Regions from separate parts of the Homo sapiens genome. Here region 2 is linked to region 1. The links are contacts of gene promoters, found by promoter capture Hi-C in human tissues and cell types (Jung and others, 2019). All regions are on one chromosome and are shown on one strand. The core of a region is centred on a gene start or on the middle of the fragment in contact, and the rest is flanking DNA. Distances in the headings are between cores, read along the strand shown.

The links. Contacts are between HindIII fragments. The study calls those that stand out against the background at their distance.
Region 2: a fragment that was not itself captured here is called in contact with the fragment with the promoter of AHDC1 in region 1 in 4 of the 25 tissues and cell types used here (IMR-90 fibroblasts, dorsolateral prefrontal cortex, lymphoblastoid cells and 1 more).

The regions. Positions count from the first base shown.
Region 1 is chr1:27,602,871-27,605,570 of GRCh38, forward strand. It overlaps AHDC1 (AT-hook DNA binding motif containing 1), which reads right to left and starts at 1,274. Exons shown (of 9, transcript NM_001371928.1): 1 at 1,236-1,274; 2 at 858-993; 3 at 527-624. RefSeq lists silencers at 449-528, 1,079-1,618. The HindIII fragment of the contact is 10,400 bases long and covers 1-2,700 here.
Region 2 is chr1:27,760,416-27,763,239 of GRCh38, forward strand. FAM76A (family with sequence similarity 76 member A) reads left to right here. Exons shown (of 9, transcript NM_152660.3): 9 at 80-2,701. The coding sequence ends at 166. Among named protein-coding and RNA genes, the nearest start is that of STX12, 11 kb to the right of the region's middle. The HindIII fragment of the contact is 6,157 bases long and covers 1-2,824 here.

The DNA.
Region 1 (2,700 bases), core at 24-2,523:
ATCCTAGGGATTTGGGGGTTGGAGGGGAGGGGCTCCTCCCTCCGCAGTCTCCCCTTTTCCCAGCGCCGATCCTAAAATCCAGCCTTGTTCTCCGCTCCCACGGTCCCCCCTTCATTCCCCCCCCCCCCACATTCTCAGCAAGCTGGAGAGCAAATTGCAGTTTTAAATCCAAAGGCGGAGGGAGGGGGAAGGAGGAGGGGGCGCGCGGCAGCGCTGGGCGCGCACCTCGCCCCCGAGCCGGGGGAGCCGCGGGGCGGCCAGGAAACCCGAGAACCCCCCCTCCCCGCCCCCCCTCCCCGTCCACCTCCCCCTCCCCCTTCCCGGCGCTGCCTGCCAGGCTTCGAGCCGAGCCCAGCCGAGCCGCGGGCCCCGGTGGAAACAAAGACCGATCGCACCGCGGGCACCGCAGCCACCGGGTCCAGCGGACCGGACCGGGGGACGCAGGCCCCCCCCGTGCGCTGCACAAAAGAGCCTGGCCGGCCGGTCCCCAGCGGGGGTCTGGGGCTGGGGAGGAGGCGCCACTCACCGGAGTGCTGGGCTGCCGGCTCCGTGGGTCCGAGCCAGGCGAGGGGTTTTGGGGGACGTCTGTCTTCCGGCGGTGGCAGCGACGCGGGCGCCCGGCTGCTGAGGAGAGGAGTCGTGGAGGAGCCCTGAGCCGCCCGCCGTCGCTGACAGCATGGCTCGCGCCTCGGCTCACATTCTCCGCCGCTAACTCCGCTGGACACGGCCCCCCGCTCCCGCGGCGCCCCCCCACCTCGATCACTCCTTCGCTCTCTCTGCGCCCCCCTCGCCCTCCCGCCGCGCACACACTCTCCCAGCCCTGGACACCCCCGCCCCCACCCCCCCCAATAGCAAACCTGGGAGGGAACGCGCCCCGCGTAGTCCTCCTGCTCCTCCTCCTCCGCCCTCCTCCCTCCCGCTCTCTCTGGCTGTCTGTCTGTCTCTCAGACTGTCTCTATTTCTCGCTCTCTCTGCCTTTCTCTGCTCTCCAAGCTGGGTGGGAAAAGGAAATGAGGACAGAAAGCAGACGCTGGCTTTGGGTGGTGGTAGCTGGATTCCCTCTCTCCCTCCCTCCCCCTCCTCCCCTCCCTCCTCCTGCCTTCTGCTCTCTCCGCTGCGAGCGGGGCTGAGCGCAGCCTGGCGGGTGGCTCGCTCTGCCCGCCCGCCCGCCTGTCTGTCTGTCTGGTCCGCCTCGCTCGCTCCCTCCCTCCGTCTCTCGCCCTCGCCCTGCCTGCCTGCCTCTCTCCGTCTCCGCCGCCGCCGCCGCTGCCTCTGCGAGCTCGCCTTACCTTCGCCGCTCACCATCCGGAACCCCAGGGGGGAGCGCGCGCGCGGCACGCCGGGACTTGTAGTCCCCGCCCCGGCCGCTCCGCGCGCGGGGAGGGCGGGGCCGCGCCGGCTGCTCCGACGGCGCGGCCAGGAGCCCCGGGGACCCCGCGCCTGGGGCTCGTCTGGCTGGAGCGCGTCCTCGTTTACCAACGGGCGAAGATCCTCCCCAAGGGTTAAGAATGGTCCCTGTGTTCCTTGTCTCCACCGGGGGGCTCTGGATCGAGCGGAGGTTGCGGGTGGGAGTGAAGGGGCGGGGTCTGAGAGTGGAATGGGAGTGGAATAGGGAACCAGGGGATTAGCCAAAGGGGCTGCGACTTTCTGGGGCGTCCCAATTAAATGGGAGGGGGAGAGGGCAGAGGAGAGGACCGGCTCTCTCAATCTGGGGACGTTATCCTTTTCTGAAAAGGTTTCTTATTGAGTAAAGCTCAAGTATATATGGCGGGAGGGCTGCTGGGGCGGGGGAGCGGGGGAGACCCAGCCAGCGCTGCTTCCTCACTCAGTGACCCCTCCTCTCAAACTCCGACCTCGGTTTCGCCCTTGCAACTCCCAGCTTTCCTATATGTCCAAGGGCGGCGAGGGCTCAAAAGTCCTGGATAATCCGCAGATAGAACACACACACCCTTTTCCGAATTCTGCTGAGCATTTGCGTTGTGTCAGGAAGCAGGATTCAGATTGAACGGTGCTGACCTCCTGCCGCGGCCGGGGGCTGGGCTCAGCACTTTCACCTACCTCCTCTTCAGGTCACATGTGTTCTCCAGCCCCTGCCTAGCCTATCCCACAGATGGGAATGTGCGCTGCTTGGGGGCCTTGTTACCGCCCCCGGAGATGGCTGAACTGCTGCGGTAAAATAGTGCTGTTATTTCCATTTTAGAGATGGGGGCACTGAGGTCCAGGTTCTCCAGTTAGCAAGTGGCTGAACCCAGCTGGATTTGAACCAGGGTCTGACTAACTCCAAACCCCACAAGCTTAACCCCTGGGCTATGACAAGGAGTTGTGACTCCCTCCATTTCTGTAACTGACCTTCTCTCCCTGTGTCTGTGTGTCCTTTCTTGGCACTTCAACAAATGTTAACTGAGGTATGCAGGGCTTGCAAGGGACACGGAGATGAATAATGCATAGTGGCTGTCGTGTCCTGTGTCCTAGGTGTCTACCAACGCCGGCCCTGACTGGCCCTGCGGCGGTCCCACCTCACTGGACCACCTCATCTGTGTGTCTGATGTTCCACACCCTGTGTCTGCTGGCCTTGTCTATCTTGCTCCAGGTCTGAAGTTCCTAGAGCAGTGCCTTTGTCTCTGGCCTACCTGTTTCTGACTCTTCCTTTGGCCTTGCAGGGTGTTGGCCAGTGTGTGACAAAGGCAGCTGGTGACATTT
Region 2 (2,824 bases), core at 282-2,781, 160 kb after region 1:
ATCTGCACTTACTCTGCATGAAAAATAGCTTATATCCTGTTTGAAACATCCTTCTTGCACTGATTTTTTTTTTCTTTAGGCCAAAAACCGAGAGCTCCTGAAGCAGGCAGCTGCTTTGTCCAAGAGCAAGAAGTCAGAGAAGTCAGGAGCTATAACCTCTCCATGACAGACCTCAAGGAGGCTCCCTAGCAACAGCAAATGGAGTTGTCCAGGGTTAGGGTTGGAGACCTGGCTGTTCTGTGGGAATTGCAAGCTTTCTTAAGAAATCTCTATTTTATTACAGTTATCCTTCTTTGTGCGATTGCAGTGGGCTGAATGGAAACACCTGGTTTGTGCTGTGTTAGACTGCATGCTTGAGTGTTTGGGATTTCAAGCTCGCTCTCTTTCTCTCACTATTAGGACTTTTCTTTTTCTTCTTCCTCTTCTCTCTATTTTGGTTCTATTCTTTTTTTTTCTTTTTTCTTTTTTTTTTTTTTTTTTTTTTTGTGGTGGTCACTGCTCAGTGTAATGTGCAGAATGATTTGTTTTTTGTTTTTTTTTTTTTTTTTGGTCCTTCATTGCATCCTGCCATACCCATGAGCAAACAGTTTGGCATTAATTATATATCACTGCCACCCTCTGAACTTTGAAAACTGCCATCTTCAGACTTGGTATAATGGAAGAGGCTTTCTCTCTCCAATAAACCTTTTGCTTCAGGGTATACTCTTCGGTTTTTTTCCAGATGTATTATGTATGAACTTTGTACTATGTATAGCCAGAGTTTTATTTATTTTTTAAAAAAGAAACTTTTTCTTGATAAAGGAATAATGGTGGTCTAGCTAGTTCTTGTAAAAGTGATGCCTCTTGAAAAAAAAACAGTCCTATTCACTAGCTTTTAGTAAAAGAATCAGATCTTTTCTTTCTTGTTACCTTGGAGTCTTAAAAACTGATTGCTAAGGTGAAACAATTCAATGCATAAGTATGGAGCTAAGTGCCTTTTGGAGGATTTCTTGGAAGAGCATTTATGGAGATACTTAAGGGAGGTAGCAAAGATTTGAACCGTCTGTCTTTTTAAGTAAGGGCAGAAAGCAAGGTTGTCCAGGTTGTACTGGACACTTCTCTCCCCACCCCTTTCCTGATTGTTTTATGTGATTGATTTTAAATTCTCACACTGCCACTTCTTTAAAAAATAAAATCCTTTATTTGCTTATATCAGTTGTCATACTGGGCTGCTGTCAGAGAATGTTTTTTTACATGAATGAACAGATTAAAAATGGAATAATATGGTCGGGTGCGGTGGCTCACGCCTGTAATACCAGCAATTTGGGAGGCCAAGGCGGGTGGATCATTTGAGGTTAGGAGTTTGAGACCATCCTGGCCAACATGGTAAAACCCCATCTGTACTAAAAAAATACAAAAATTAGCCGGGCCTGGTGGCATGCACCTGTAATCCCAGCTACCCAGGAGGCTGAGGCAGGAGAACTGCTCGAATCCCGGGAGGCAGAGGTTGCAATGAGCTGAAATCGCAACACTGCACTGCAGCCTGGGCAATGGAGTGAGACTCCGTCTCAAAAAAAAAAAAAAAAGGAATAATATTTGAACTACAGAGCATTTTTGGGGTCAGCATGAGCTGCTCTAGTAAGGACTCTTGAGTCTGGGAAAAGTGGTATCACTATACCTTCTCCCCACTCCTCACCCACCCGAGCCCATACACTCCCTGCTTTTCATGGATATGTATTGAAAACAGGTGCTTCTCAGAAGCACTTTGCCTCAACCAGAGTTATGTATGCCCTGCCTATCTTCCCTTCTTAACCCTGTAGGAATATGGATTTACTTTTCCAGGAAAGGGGATAGATTTACATTTCTAGGCATACTCTCAGGTCCTCTATGTGATGTTTGTGAAAGGAATTAGGGTGTGTCATGTGTGCCATGAAACAACAAAACCAACTACCCTAGAATCATTTATGCAGGGGGTACTAGAGTTAGAAATAATAATGAGGGCAGATAACATTTGTACCTCAGTCTACCAAAAAATTATAGTACTAAATTTAACTTCTAGGCGTTTCCTGGAAGCAGATGCTCTATAATTTGTGATAGCATTCTCATAAATGGAGTCCTACACATAATTGGACAGAGATGTGGAAATGGTGGTTTCCTTCTGATAAGGGATACAGTGGACCATGTCGCTTATATATCACCCTACTAGGGGATATAATTTTCCCTTCTAAGCAAGGGAAATGGCAGTGCTAAATAGTTTTGTAAAGTTTTTGAATGAGAAGCTTTTAGGTAAAGATAAACTGTCATAATATTTTTCAGATGCATTTGCATTGACTATGGGAGAAAAATTAGGGGGAAATGACAGTCATGGTGTTTTTTTTTAATTTTAAGGACTGAAATTCTGTTACATGATGTATGACAATATAAAAACATACTTAGTTTTATACTAAATCTTTTTTTAAGGTCTTGGCATTTAATATAAAGCAAATTCACACGTTTTCTAACTTTCCATAAGTTCCAAAAAGGGAAAGAAGAAACCTCAGTCTTGAAATTTTGATTTTTAAAAATCATGACACTGTTTTACCATGAAATTGAGTAGCTAACTTTTGGTAACACCTTTTGTTTCTTTGTATGTTTGTAATAATGGACATTTTAAAACACAGGAATGTTTTGGTTTGTACAGACTTTGACAAATGTGTGTTAATAAAAATTCATATTGACTCAAGTGTAATTGTTGGATTTTGTTTTTATTTCTTGCTGTTTACCAGTAGACATACCCCGTTATCCCCTTCAGCCCTTCAGCCTAGAAAAGTTTGTCTTGCTTATAGACTTAAAAAATTAAAAGCCT